2 separate regions of the Homo sapiens genome follow, and region 1 is linked to region 2. Evidence: promoter capture Hi-C in 16 types of primary human blood cells and fetal thymus (Javierre and others, 2016). All regions are on one chromosome and are shown on one strand. Each heading gives the region's core, a stretch centred on a gene start or on the middle of the fragment in contact. The rest is flanking DNA. Distances are from core to core; before and after follow the strand shown. Region 1 overlaps HNRNPA1 (heterogeneous nuclear ribonucleoprotein A1). Region 2 holds the start of GPR84 (G protein-coupled receptor 84).

What was found. The method cuts DNA at HindIII sites, captures the fragments that hold promoters and counts their contacts. A CHiCAGO score of 5 or more calls a contact.
Region 1: a contact is called between a fragment that was not itself captured here and the fragment with the promoter of GPR84 in region 2, in 17 of 17 cell types (monocytes, fetal thymus, naive CD8 T cells and 14 more). The highest score is 12.8, in monocytes.

Annotation. Positions count from the first base shown.
Region 1 is chr12:54,283,161-54,290,826 of GRCh38, reverse strand. HNRNPA1 (heterogeneous nuclear ribonucleoprotein A1) reads right to left here. Exons shown (of 11, transcript NM_031157.4): 8 at 7,593-7,666; 9 at 6,860-7,015; 10 at 6,510-6,569; 11 at 3,740-6,278. The coding sequence ends at 6,514. Among named protein-coding and RNA genes, the nearest start is that of HNRNPA1, 6.3 kb to the right of the region's middle. The HindIII fragment of the contact is 6,133 bases long and covers 1-5,633 here.
Region 2 is chr12:54,362,295-54,369,771 of GRCh38, reverse strand. It overlaps GPR84 (G protein-coupled receptor 84), which reads left to right and starts at 5,286. Exons shown (of 2, transcript NM_020370.3): 1 at 5,286-5,379; 2 at 5,913-7,327. The coding sequence starts at 5,921. The coding sequence ends at 7,111. All of the region lies in intron 1 of GPR84-AS1 (GPR84, ZNF385A, ITGA5 and GTSF1 antisense RNA 1), which reads right to left. It overlaps ZNF385A (zinc finger protein 385A), which reads left to right. Exons shown (of 7, transcript NM_015481.3): 7 at 1-636. RefSeq lists an enhancer at 5,268-5,357. The HindIII fragment of the contact is 7,569 bases long and covers 1-6,300 here.

The DNA.
Region 1 (7,666 bases), core at 1,318-3,817, 76 kb after region 2:
AGTACAATGGCGTGATCTCAGCTCATCACAACCTCTTTCTCCCGGGTTCAAGTGATTCTCCTGCCTCAGTCTCCCAAGTAGCTGGGATTACAGGCATCCACCACTATGCCCAGCTAATTTTGCATTTTTAGTAGAGATGGGGTTTCTCCATGTTGGCCAAGCTGGTTTTGAACTCCCGACCTCAGGTGATCTGCCTGCCTCAGCCTCCCAAAGTGCTGGGATTACAGGCTTGAGCCACCACGCCTGGCTTTTTTTTTTTTTTTGAGACAGAGTCTCGCTCTGTCGCCTAGGCTAGAGTGCAGTGGCGCGATCTCAGCTCATTGCAACCTCAACCTCCACCTTCTCTGCCTCAGCCTCCTGAGTAACTGGGATTACAGGCGCCCGCCACCATGCCTGGCTATTGTTTTGTATTTTTAGTAGAGATGGGTTTCACCATGTTGGCCAGGCTAGTTTCGAACTCCTGACCTCAAATGATCTGCCTGCCTCGGCCTCCCAAAGTGTTGGGATTACAGGCGTGAGCCACTGTGCGCAGCCTAGATATTTTTTATTAGTCTATTTTGCTTCTTCTTGAAACAGAATATAATTCACTAAGTTTCAGATTCCTTACCCATATCAGTTAAAGTCCAGTCAAACCTCCCTGACAGGACACAATCTCCTTGCTTGGAGTTGTATAGTCTCCAGTATTCCCAGTCACTGAATTACACAGCTTACCTTTTCAGAAGATTTTACATTTACTTTTTATTCAATTTTACTAGCTCCATTCCAACATTAAAACCTTACATCCAAGTTCTGATCTGGACACCGCAGGCTGAGGTGGGAGGACTGCTTGAGCCCAGGAGCTTGAGACGAGCCTGGACAATATAGGGAGACCCTGTTTCTACAAAAAAAAAATTAGTGGGTGGGTACAGTGGCATATGCCTGTGGTCCCAGCTATGTTGGAAGCTGAGGTGAGAGAATTGCTTGAGCCTGGGAGTTCGAGGCTACAGTGAGCCAAGATCATGCTACTGTACTCCAGCCTGGGCGACAGAGCGAGACTGTCTCAAACAAAAATGGACACCACAGATACTGAGACCTAAAAGCAGCACAGTGATTAGGGAGATATGGAGTGTGGTCTCTAGCCTAAGTTTAGGGAACAAAAACAACTTGAAGCACTTCCTTTTTTTTTTGAGATGGAGTCTCTGTCGCCCAGGCTTGAGTGCAGTGGGCTGATCTCAGCCCACCTTAGCCTCCTGAGTAGCTAGGACTAAAGGCGCATGCCACCATGCCTGGCTAATATTTGTTAGTAGGGATGGGTTTCACCATGTTGGTCAGGCTGGTCTCCAACTCCTGGGCTCAAGCAATCTGCACACCTCGGCCTTCCAAAGTGCTAGGATTACAGGCATGAGGCATCCAATGTTTCCACATTGTTTTTTTTTGTTTTGTTTTGTTTTTTTTTGAGACAGCGTCTCTCGCTCTGTCGCCCAGGCTGGAGTGCAGCAGTAGGGTCTTGGCTCACTGCAACCTCCGCTTCCCAGGTTCAAGCAATTCTCCTGCCTCAGCCTCCCAAGTAGCTGGGATTACAGGCACCTGCCACCATGCCCAGCTAATTTTGGCATTTTTAGTAGAGACGGGCTTTTCACCATGTTGGCCAGGCTGGTTTCAAACTCCTGACCTCAAGTGACCCTCCCGCCTAGGCCTCCCAGAGTGCTGGGATTACAGGTGTTGAGCTACTGTACCTGGCAATGTTTCCACATTTCTTTCTTTTTTTTTTTTGAGACGGAGTCTTGCTCTGTCGCCCAGGCTAGAGTGTAGTGGCACGATCTCGGCTCACTGCAACCTTTGCCTCCTGGGTTCAAGTAATTCTCCTGACTCAGCCTCCAGAGTAGCTGCGATTATAGGCGTGCGCCACCATGTCCCGCTAATGTTTGTATTTTTTTTGGGCAGGGGGGACAGAGTCTCGCTCTGTCACCCAGGCTGGAGAGCAGTAGCGCGATCTCGGCTGACTGCAACCTCCGACTCCCCGGTTCAAGCAATTCTTCTGCCCCACCCTCCTGAGTAGCTGGGACTACAGGCGCCCGCTGCCACGCCCGGCTATTTTTTTGTACTTTTTTAGCAGAGACGGGGTTTCACCGTGTTGCCCAGGCTGGCAACCCGCCCACCTTGGCCTCCCAGGTAGGATTACAGGCATGAGCCACCGCGCCTGGCCAATTTTTGTATTTTTAGTAGAGATGGGGTTTCACTATGTTGGCCAGGCTGGTCTGGCACTCCTGACATCGTGATCCACCCGCCTCGCCCTCCCAAAGTGTTGGGATTACAAGCATGAGCCATCGCGCCCGGCCATCTTGTTTCCACATTTCAAGCTGCAAAGGCAGGGGCTTGGGCTAGCTGTTCAGAAATTTAATTAGTTTACCTAAGAGACGTCAGATCCCCCTGCTCTCATGAAAATCACTAGTGAGGTCTTATACACACACATACTTGTTCAGCGTGCTGACCTAAACAAGGTGGAACATAGTTTGAAAATAGAGCAATCTGAGTTATATGATCCAGTGGTTGCAGGAACTTGGGACAGGATTTTATCTTCAGCCTATTTCCTCATTTAGAAAATAATGGAATTTACTTTTCACAGTATTATAATAAAGTATATAGCAAAGTACATGGACTGAAACAATGTTTCTCTTCAATAGGAATGCTTTTAGGAAACTATCCTTAGGAGTTTTCCTTTCCCTTCAAGGAAATTTGATTGTCTACAATAAAAACCTCTAGCAAATGCCAAGTCACAAACTGAGACCCCTGACATTACTTCCCCCAAGTATCAAAAGGCTAATGGAACTTAGTCCCATATACAGTTGTTTCAAAACAGCATGGGTGTTAAAAGGCAAAAATTTCCCAAGAATCCTACCTCCACTTTTGTTAGGCTCAAAACTGAGGCTGGATAAACTTTCCTTGAAAATAACAGAAACAGTTTAGTGGCCAGGCACGGTGGCTCACACCTCTAATCCCAGCACTTTGGAAGGCCAAGGTGGGCGTTTATTACCTAAGGCCAGGAGTTCAAGACCAGCCTGGGCAATACGGTGAAACGCTGTGTCTCTACTAAAAATACAATTAGCCAGGCACCTCTAGTCCCACCTACACGGGAGGTTGAGGCAGAATTGCTTGAACCTGGGAGGCAGAGGTTGCAGTGAGCAGAGTGTCACTGCACTCCAGTCTGGGTGACAGAGGGACACTTCGTCACACACACACACACACGCAAGAACCTAAGCATTTGCTAGAGGGTACAATTATTGCTTCCAAAATAGTCCTTACATTTTTAGGCTATCTTTGAGAGGCTAAGTCTTGCCTCTCATTCAGTTCACTTTCTTACTCCTGGCTTGAGAATTCTACTGAAGTATGAGACAGCTGGCCAATAAGCCCAACTTGTTTGCCAAAGATGAAATCCATTATGTCCTTCTGCAACAGATGGTGAGCGTAAGTCCCAATAGAGACATACTGAGCTCAATGGCAGTGCTACAACTTGATTTTCCCTTGCCAGGGGAGCTAGAAAAAGGACATGCTCAATTGGATCAATAGTAAAGTTTACTTATAGTGAGCCAAGAATTACTCCTGTAGTGAGAACCCATTTCTATTTTCATTAAACCATGAAGCTGAATGGGATGAATCTAAATATAGAAATTCACATTAGAATCAACCATATCCTCTCTAACCTGAATTTCAACATGTTATTAACCATAGATATCACAAAGGAGGACAAAACAAGCAGAACTAAGTTAAATACAGTTTATTAAAAAAAAAAACCCATTCACAAAATGGAATTTGAGCTGCAGAACAGCTCATGTAAACTGCATGGCAGTGATAACGAAGTACAGTGGCTCAGATAAAGGTCTTCACAAGGACGTTCCTGCAAAAGGCAAAAGAGGTTGTAAAGTATTCATATAAGCAGAGGTGAATGACTACACAGTTATATCCACTGTCACTACTGGGAATACCTGGTTGGCTAATAACTCTTTTTGCAATTGGATGAGATTACGAAGTGTTTTGGTTTAAGGTACAGCTTGTCATTCTTTTACTTTGGGAACGCAGGGCATTCTTTTGCTGAGCACTAATTTGTAAAAACTTACCTTTCTGCCACGAACTTGGACAGATGAGTTTCTGTTTTTAAGAGCTGATAAGACTAGTAGCAGACTCCTCCCTAGAAAAGTAAACAACCTTTAGAACTAGCTCTAAGACCAAGTCCCATCTCAAGCTAAACCCCCCATACCTCCCATTAATAACCCACCCATCCCCCCACCATTTGGGGAAGTCTATTACTTTGAGCCATTATTTTAAGGAAATGGGTCAAAGGAAGATAAATAAAAGGGCAAAAATTTATATTCACAGTACAAATAATGTGCTCACTTCCTTCAACTGGGAGCCATCAATAGGGTGTCAATTTAAAACAATTCATCTCCAGAAAAACCAAGTTCAGCTTAACTGGACTAGTTTTGGCTCAATATATTAAGAAAAATGTTTAACAGAAAACTGGACTTTAAGTAACTATATGGATGTAAGTAAAATCTGTTCTTACCTACCCGCATAGCAATAAAACCTTTCCTCCTGGTTCTGACTGCTAGTCCTAAGAGTCAGGTGTGCCTTACTCTTGTCTGCCTCCTTCCTTGCGATGATCACTGATATTTCACTCCCTCCTAGCTTTCATGGAGCGTGCCGTGGCCTGCCCCTGGCTTATCTGTACTCCACATACCACAAGTGTCTACTCTCAGCTGTAGAGTGTCTGAGCTCGGAGCCATTCGCGCTATACTTGCTAGCAGTTCCTAGTAGCTGAACATCTCTCCTGGATCTTTAAAGGCATTGTCACGAATCCTGAGGTATCTGCAAACTCCCTCAATAGTTAGGGTTCCACCTGCTATTGCAAACTCAGCCAGTATCATGGAACTATCACCCATGCTTTCCCACCCACCACCACCTCCCACCCACCTCCCACCACCCTCCTCCTCCCCAAACTTCCAACACACCCATGGGATGGAATATACAGTCCTATTGATAGACAAATCTCTATGCTACTAGGTACAATAGCACTGAAATTGAGAGAGCACCAAAGGTAAGGCTCAAAAGAATCTATGTACAAATAACACATTATTGGATATTAACTGTTAAAGGTTTAGAAATCATTTTCTATACAATTAACATTTTAGGTAGGTTGTGTGACCCCTTGTGCCATAAAGGGAAACTGCAGTTAACATGAAATTATGTAGAAAAATTTAGTTTCTATTGGTATGGTTTGAATCTCCAAATTAATTAGTATAGTTAACTGATAGAACCTCTGAAGGCCCACCCAACCAGAACCCAGTCAAACTGCAGTTTTCCTTTAATGTAAGCCTATCTTTACGTTCATTAAAATGCTTTCTGATATTAGTTATTTTTAAAAGGCCTCCCAGACACTTCAAATCTGCGGATTTATGGAGCGGCATTAGCCAGCAGCTAGTTTCTATTCCCTGGCAGAGCTTTGAACTTGAATTGTGATAGAAGCATTCAACATTATTATCAGGGGGAGTGGGTAGGGAAAGTCCAAATCTCTGCCAGTCCCAAATCCATACAGTTGTCATTTCATTCAAGAGAATTAAATCGTTTATTGATTACACATGATAATGGATACACAAGCTTCATTCCCATCTATAATTTTATCTGGTACCATTATTCAATTTAGATATATTGCATAGGATGTGCCAACAATCACTTTTATAACCATTCCATGATTTTGCTTGGGTAATCCCTTTTAATGGTGAACTTCAGGTCACAACAGTAACTATCAGTTCAACTACACCAAGGTTTCCGAAGACAATGGCTTCTCCACCCAAGCAGGTTGTATATAAATTCCAAATAGAACCTGGCATCACCCTGAAGGAATTCTAACTTCACACTGTTGGGGAAATTTACCAAGATGGCTTAAGAGTAGACTAACTTTACACAGCACATTAAAAAAAAGACATTTATTCAGCGTCACGATCAGACTGTTACATTTAGCAATCAACAGCATGGGGTGCAAAAAAAAAAATCTACATTAAAACCCTTTGTTGGAATGCTTTACACTTTCCACAGAACAGAAACTAAAATAACCTGTTATACAATTAGTCACAAATACAGTCCTCGAGTTTTTTGCCCATACACATGAGTATTTGTCTAAAACATGTCTTCTTTGTAGCAGCTAGGCCCTGCCACCACTGTGCTTGGCTGAGTTCACAAATCTGTTGTAACCTGTAGCTTCCCTGTCACTTCTCTGGCTCTCCTCTCCTGCTAAGCTTTGTTTCCTGTTGAACAATATGGAATAAAGTTGTTAATCTAAACATATTAAGACTCAAGGCTACAATCCAATATCAAGTTTGTTTCCCACAAATTTTGCTGATCTGAATATTAACTTTATATCCACAATTACTGCAATTATAATGTTAACTATGTTGCACTGCTCAGCTACATTAGGGTTATTGGGTTCATCAGCAATTTAAAAAATTATGTCAACACACAAAAAGGTGCTTACTTACCTAATTAAAATCTTCTGCCACTGCCATAGCTACTGCTGCTGCTGGAACCGCCATAGCCACCTGAAAAGTACAATTTTTCTTTTAAAGTTTCAAAGTGCCAACAGTAATGTTTTCATATTTGGGATAATAAAAGTTAAATTCAAGTGTCTGGCCATTTAAAAATGGCCCTACTACAAGGGAGGTGGTAAAGAGGTCCCATGATTTTTCTAATTTGTGATCAAATTATCACTTTCTGAAGGTTCTAAACTATAAACGTTTTGCTGCCCAGACATAGCAGTTAAAGGGCTTTCTTCCCAGCAGTAGCTACAGACACTCTTTTGACATTATCCAAAATTACATAGATACCATACCTTGGTTTCGTGGTTTTGCAAAGTATTGGCCTCCACCGCCATAGGGGCCAGAGCTTCTGCCTCCAAAATTTCCTCCCTTCATGGGTCCAAAATTTGAAGACTGATTGTTGTAATTCCCAAAATCATTGTAGCTTCCACCACCTCCAAAATTGCTTCCTATGAATGGGAAAGAGGGCCTTTATCTGTTACCTGAGGATGATGTTAGTTTCCAATTCTGTTTAGCAGTCAGAATAAAATAAGGTTGAGTTATCAGCCTTCCTTTCTCCCAAACTATGGTGACTCCAATCTTTGCATTTCATTCTCTGGGAAAGGCATTCAGTTGAATAATCCAGTAATACAAAGAAAACTGGCCTAACTCACCATGACATAAAATAAAGAGATTTTCAGAGTGGCACAAGCATACCCTTCAGCCTTGAAGGCCTTCACGGATCCAGGGCCACAGCAAGCAGAAGTATCTTGGATACATCAACTAAGCGCCTAAGGTCCCAAAGGAGTTAAAATACTAAATCCTTCTATGATACTAATCTAACTCAAAGACAACACTATCCACTTATCTCTACTATTTGGGAGTGAGGCGGCCCCAGCTTAAAGCTAGGAGGAGGTAGCATAGCAAGCCCATTTGTTTTTAATATACCATGCAGTGTACCACACAATGCTTCAACAGCACCAGAACCCAAGCTCTAAAAGGCTAATCTAGCTGTCACACCAAGTACTTGGATCACTGGATACCTACCACTACCACCGCCAAAGCCGCCTCCGCCTCCGTTGTTATAGCTGTCATAGCTGCCACTCCCGCCATAGCCACTG
Region 2 (7,477 bases), core at 4,037-6,536:
CTGGGTCCCTCATAAGCACTTTGGTTTTACCGCCTGCAACCTCACTGTGCCCGCCCCGCACCATGCCCTAGCCCCAGGTCTAGCCGGGCCCATTGCAGGGGGCAGCACTTGGGGGCATCTCCGGCACTTGGGTGGGACCAAGGAGATGCCACCATAGACCTTTCCCTCGCCTTCTTCCTCCCTAGTCCGGGTTCCATTCTTTTCACCAGCACCCATCGCCCAAGGGGTACCGAGGGGGGCAAGGGGTGTCCAGTCCAAGCCCACCCCCGCCTCGCCTTCCGCAAAACTGTGAGCAAAAAGCAATAGAAGCCTCGCCCCCGCCCTTCCCCTTCGCAGGATTCGCCGAGTCTGTAGCCTCCCCGATCCAAGTTCCTAGACCTCATGGCTGTCCCCTCCCACCAGTCACCTCCACTGCACAACTCGGGCGGGGGTGTGACACCTCTCCCCCACCCCCGACTCCGTGGTTTCCGTATCGTCAACCCTTCAGCCGCCGACCCGGGAGGGGTCTGGCCTACACTGGTCTTCCCCTTCCCATCAACTCTTTCTGCTTGACAATGTAGCAACCCAGGCCCCCCACCCACGGTCCTCCCCTTTTTCCTCTCCCTGACAATAAAGTCTGAATTTGTTCTGCCCTCCGCCCCTAGACTCAGACTCTGTCTTTGCCCGCTGTTTTGGGAGCAATTCTGTCGTTAAATGTATCTGTATGGGACCGGCACAGAAAGAGGAAAGGGAGCGAGAAGGAGGAGGGAAACGGAAATCGGGGGTGGGGGAGGCAAAATATGAGGCTTGTGCAGAGTGAGCAGAGGCTCCCCATCCCACCCACGCCCACTCTCGTCCAGCTCGTGTAAACTTGGCCTGGGGGATCATTTCTAGTCCAAGTCTGGGACTGCAGCTGCAGCTGTTGAGAATTTGCCACAACTCCACAAGGCGGCGCCAACGACCCGGAAAAGGAGTCTAAGCCCGAGGCTAAGCCGCTCCTGTAATGTGTTTCGAGATTCCACGCAGATGGGTCTAGACTCAGTCTCAGACAAAGAAAAGAATCCAGGCTTTTGTGTGTCTGGTGGGAAACCCACGCCAGCGAGACTCAAGGCACAGGAAGAAACGGGGGGCAGAGACTGGGGATCTGAGCTCTAGGCTCTGGCCCCACATAAATAGTGACCTTGAGTCAGTCCTTGCCCTCTCTGGACCTCAGTGTCACAGTCTTCAAAATAAGGAGACTTGAGTCTTTCAAAGGTTCATTAAGATCTCATGTATCCAAGACTGAAGAACTGAGACTGTGCCATTTACAGATATACTGGAATACCTTCTCAACTGGCCCCTAAATGGTCTGTGGAACAGGGAAACACTGTTCAGCTGTCTCTCACATGGTATGTGAGGAAAATGGTTTCTCCGTTATCTCCAAAATGTGGTTCAACCATACACTCCCAAGAGCAGCCAGTAATCCTGACCCCCTCTATCCCTACTGAGAGGCAGGAAGTTCAAACAAAAAAGCCCAAACCAAAACCCAGAATCTATGTGAGTTCCTCCCGACTTTCATCTCTGCTCACTTCCCCCACTCTACCCACTTCCCAGTCTTGCAGAAGAAAGGAGGAGGGAAGTTGGGATGATGTCTGTTAAACAGGAAAGAGAGGGGAATGGGGGACTCCTGGGTTTGTCAACTGTGAGGCTGAAAGGAGGGTGTTCACTGTGGGTTCAGAATTGGAACCCAATAAGGAGTGTTTTGGTGTTTGTTTGCATGTTTGTTTCCAGGTAAATCTAGCTTTAAAAGGGGTGGGAGGATTCAGAAGGATGCGGGACAAGAGAGGCCCTATAGAAGAGTGGGTAGAGAAAAGCAGGGGCTGGGTCACATGTGGGGAAGGAGATAGGGACTGGAAGAAATTGGGGTTAGAGAGTCTGGGATCCTAGCAGACCCCACAAGTACTTCAAGTCTGCTAGTTTAAAACTGAATTCATTATTTACCCCTTTCCCTAAGCCTGCTCCTCCTCCCACATTTCCTATCTTATTAAGAGCACCACCATCTGTCTGGAAAACAGAAAGTTATCCTAGTTCCTCCTTCTTCCTAACTCTTCATCCAATGAATCACTAAATAAGTCCTATTTGACCTCCTAACAACCTATGGATCCTTATCATTCCTCCATTCCCACAACCACTGCCCTAACCAGGACTGGCTCCATAATTTGTGGGACCCAGTGCAAAATGAAAAAGCAGAGCCCCTTATTCAAAAAGTATAGTATTAAGAATTTAAAAACAGTGATTGACGAGCATTTAACCAAGCACCAGGCCCTTCAAACTGCAAGGCCCTATGCAGTTGTACAGGTGGTCTGGCCCTAACTTAGGGCCATTCTATCTCTCGTCTGAACTAGTGCCTCTTTACCCATTTCGCTCACTCCCAGGCTGCACGCCTTCATTCTTTACTCACAGCAATCTAAGTGCAAATCTCACCAACTCCTTCAGCATGAAACCAGCTCCTTAGCACGATACACAAGGTCCCCCTTGACCCTGCCTGCTCAACTCTCCAAGCTCTTCTCTGTTGTTCTCTACCTCATGCCCTTTGTTGGCTTCTACCTGAACCTCTGCGCCTCTACACATACTGTTCTCTTTGTCTAGAATGTCCCTCTACTTATCTCCCAAAAAACTCTCCTGTTCATCATTCAGAATGCAGCTCAGTAACCTCTCTGTGAACCCTTTCCTCACCTCCTACTTAATAGTATGCTCCTTTTCTCTAAGCCTCTGATATATCATTCTGGGTTGTTTTGTTTTGTTTTGTTTTGTTTTTTGAGAAAGAGTTTTTGCTCTGTTGCCCAGGCTGGGGTGCAGTGGTGCAACCTCGGCTCACTGCAACCTCCGCCTCCTGGGTTCAAGCGATTCTCCTGTCTCAGCCTCCCAAGTAGCCAGGATTACAGGTGCGCACCACCACGCCTGGCTAATTTTTGTATTTTTAGTAGAGACGGGGTTTCATCATATTGGCCAGGCTGGTCTCGAACTCTTGACCTCAAGTGATCTGCCCGCCTTGGTCTCCCAAAGTGCTGGGATTACAGGTGTGAGCCACTGCACCCAGCCATGTATTTTTTGTTTGTTTTTTGTTTGTTTTTGAGACGGAGTCTCGCACTGTCACCTGGGCTGAAGTGCAGTGGCGCGATCTCGGCTCACTGCAACCTCCACCTCCTAGGTTCAAGAGATTCTCCTGCCTCAGTCTCCCAAGTAGCTGGCATTACAGGTGCCTGCCACCACACCCAGCTAATTTTTTGTATTTTTAGTAGAGACGGGGTTTCATCATATTGGCCAGGCTGGTCTTGAACTCCTGACCTCAAGTGATCTGCCCGCCTTGGCCTGCCAAAGTGCTGGGATTACAGGTGTGAGCCACTGCACCCAGCGATGTATTTTTTGTTTGTTTTTTGTTTGTTTGTTTTTGAGACGGAGTCTCACACTGTCGCCCGGGCTGAGGTGCAGTGGCACCATCTCGACTCATTGCAACCTCTACCTCCTAGGTTCAAGCGATTCTCCTGCCTCAGCCTCCCAAGTACCTGGGATTACAGGCGCCTGCCACCACGCCCAGCTAATTTTTTGTATTTTTAGTAGAGACGGGGTTTCACTATGTTGGCCAGGCTAGTCTCGAACACCTGACCTCATGATCCACCTGCCTCGGCCTCCCAAAGTGCTGGCATTAGAGGCATGAGCCACTGCGCCCAGCCTGTTAGTTTGTTTTTCTAATTTTTCAGAGACAACGTCCTGCTGTGTCACCCAGGCTGGAGTATAGTGGCACAATCTTTCTCACTGTAGTCTTGACCTCCCAGACTCAAATGATCCTCCCACCTCAGCCTCCCCAGTAGCTGGGACTACAGGTGCACATCACCACAGCTGGCTATTTTTTTTTTTATTGTAAAGACAGGGTCTCACTATGTTGCCCAGGCTGGTCTTAAACTCCTGACCTGAAGTCATCCTCCCAGCTCAGCCTCCCAAAGCATTGGGATTACAGGCATGAGCCTCCAAGCCAGGCCTATATAGTATTTTAAAGCAAGCCTCAGCAAACTTTTTCTCAAAGGGCCTGATTATAAATATTTTAAACTGTGTTAATCAAGAGATAAAACTGAGGATATTACATAGGCACTTATATAACAATTTAAAATATAACCATTTTTATTTTACTTACTTATTTATTTATTATTTTATTTTTTGAGACGGAGTCTTGCTCTGTCATCCAGGCTGGAGTGCAGTGGTGCAATGTGATCTTGGCTAACTGCAAGCAACCTCCGCCTCCCGGGTTCAAGCGATTCTCTTGCCTCAGCCTCCCTAGTAGCTGGGATTACAGGCGCACCCATCACGCCTGGCTAATTTTTGTATTTTTAGTAGAGACGGGGTTTTACCATGTTGGCCAGGCTGGTCTCGAACTCCTGACCTCAAGTGATCTGCCCTCCTTGGCCTCCCAAAATGTTGGGATAATGGGCGTGAGCCACTGCACCTGGCCTAAAATATAACCATTTTTAAATGGAAAAAAAACATGATTGGGTCACAGGCTATACAAAAACAGCAGACTAGATTTGGCCCATAGGGTGAAGTTTACTCACCCTTGCTCTGGAGAATCGATTAAGCATTTGCATATTTATGTATCTGTCTCCCCTAGTAGACTATGCACAAGGCCATATATCAGACGTTCTTGTATCCCCAGTGTCTAGATCAGAGTCTGGTGTATAGTAGGCACTCAGTACTAAGTTGTTGGGTAAATGGATAAATGAATGATTGAACAGGACCCTGATCCCTTGAGGAGAATGAAACCAGAATTCTGGATGCCTCATTCCCCACTTTTCTTCATCTGACTTGGTTTCTCAAATGTGCTAGGGTGTCACATGGGTCCCTCTGACTTGAACCATGTCTAAGCCGTGGAGACAAGAAAGGTAGTGCTCCTCTGAAACAAACCCAAGGCTTCTGGGGGTACCTAAAGTTGCTCCTGGAACTTGGTCTTATCTTTTGGCCCTTTGAGGAGTGGCCCAAATGTTCTGATGCTCTGACTCCGTGCCCTAGCAATTCTTGGCAATGATCTTACAGATGAGTTCTGCCATGCAAAGAGGGGAAGAAAACAGAGTTTGGGTTTCAGGAAGGAGAAAGGAAGAGTGAAACCACTCTGAGGTAAGTAGCGGGGGACTTTCAACAGAGAAGCCTAGATTTCACTAGCCGAAGCAAAATGAGTAGGACCGGAGGTGGTGAAGGAAGTGGCTGGGATTGGGTAATGGGGGAGTTTCTTATTCTTTCAGTGGACTATAATAGGATACATAAGAGCAGGATGTCTCCTGCTTGAAGCCTAACTGTCCACCAGAAAGGACTGCTCTTTGGGTGAGTTGAACTTCTTCCATTATAGAAAGAATTGAAGGCTGAGAAACTCAGGTAAGCACTTTTGTTGTGGGTATACTTTTACCTTCTTGGTCTCCTCATCTCCCAGGTGGTAACAAACAGAAATGACTAAAGCCTATATGTGTGTGTAGTGGAAAGGAGCAGAGGGAACTGAATACAGAGAGGATCCTGAATACACGATGCTGAATAGAGAGAGGGGACTCCTGGGGGTCTTTGGGGATGGGGAAGGAATTAAAAAAGTTGGAGGGCACTGGGTTTACTGAGAGCAGCGGGATGGATATAGAAGAGGACTGAGGTTTGGAGCAGAATAAGACTAAGATATTTAGGCAAGAGATATTTAGATAAAAACTTGGGGAAATATTTGAGAATGGGAAAGGACTAAGAGAACCTAAGGAGAGAGTTAGGGATCTTGAGATGAAGAGGCCTGGGAATGGTTCAGGAGGATACTGAATTAAGGTGAGGTCCAGGAACAGTTTAGATGTCCAGGGTCCCAGAACTGTTCAAGAGATCTAAGTTGAATGCTAGGTTCTGATTCCCTCTTCCTCTTCCACCCTCTGCCTCTTTAGCCTCTATCATGTGGAACAGCTCTGACGCCAACTTCTCCTGCTACCATGAGTCTGTGCTGGGCTATCGTTATGTTGCAGTTAGCTGGGGGGTGGTGGTGGCTGTGACAGGCACCGTGGGCAATGTGCTCACCCTACTGGCCTTGGCCATCCAGCCCAAGCTCCGTACCCGATTCAACCTGCTCATAGCCAACCTCACACTGGCTGATCTCCTCTACTGCACGCTCCTTCAGCCCTTCTCTGTGGACACCTACCTCCACCTGCACTGGCGCACCGGTGCCACCTTCTGCAGGGTATTTGGGCTCCTCCTTTTTGCCTCCAATTCTGTCTCCATCCTGACCCTCTGCCTCATCGCACTGGGACGCTACCTCCTCATTGCCCACCCTAAGCTTTTTCCCCAAGTTTTCAGTGCCAAGGGGATAGTGCTGGCACTGGTGAGCACCTGGGTTGTGGGCGTGGCCAGCTTTGCTCCCCTCTGGCCTATTTATATCCTGGTACCTGTAGTCTGCACCTGCAGCTTTGACCGCATCCGAGGCCGGCCTTACACCACCATCCTCATGGGCATCTACTTTGTGCTTGGGCTCAGCAGTGTTGGCATCTTCTATTGCCTCATCCACCGCCAGGTCAAACGAGCAGCACAGGCACTGGACCAATACAAGTTGCGACAGGCAAGCATCCACTCCAACCATGTGGCCAGGACTGATGAGGCCATGCCTGGTCGTTTCCAGGAGCTGGACAGCAGGTTAGCATCAGGAGGACCCAGTGAGGGGATTTCATCTGAGCCAGTCAGTGCTGCCACCACCCAGACCCTGGAAGGGGACTCATCAGAAGTGGGAGACCAGATCAACAGCAAGAGAGCTAAGCAGATGGCAGAGAAAAGCCCTCCAGAAGCATCTGCCAAAGCCCAGCCAATTAAAGGAGCCAGAAGAGCTCCGGATTCTTCATCGGAATTTGGGAAGGTGACTCGAATGTGTTTTGCTGTGTTCCTCTGCTTTGCCCTGAGCTACATCCCCTTCTTGCTGCTCAACATTCTGGATGCCAGAGTCCAGGCTCCCCGGGTGGTCCACATGCTTGCTGCCAACCTCACCTGGCTCAATGGTTGCATCAACCCTGTGCTCTATGCAGCCATGAACCGCCAATTCCGCCAAGCATATGGCTCCATTTTAAAAAGAGGGCCCCGGAGTTTCCATAGGCTCCATTAGAACTGTGACCCTAGTCACCAGAATTCAGGACTGTCTCCTCCAGGACCAAAGTGGCCAGGTAATAGGAGAATAGGTGAAATAACACATGTGGGCATTTTCACAACAATCTCTCCCCAGCCTCCCAAATCAAGTCTCTCCATCACTTGATCAATGTTTCAGCCCTAGACTGCCCAAGGAGTATTATTAATTATTAATAAATGAATTCTGTGCTTTTAATGCTCAGGTGTGGTCTCTGGGGAAGAAGGAAACAGGTCACGGTTAGGCTCAGGGGCCAGGCTAGGAGGAGACCATACTATTCCATCCCTCCTGCATGACGAAATCCTGTCACCATGTGCATGCTCACACATATCCCTAAAGCACCTGTGG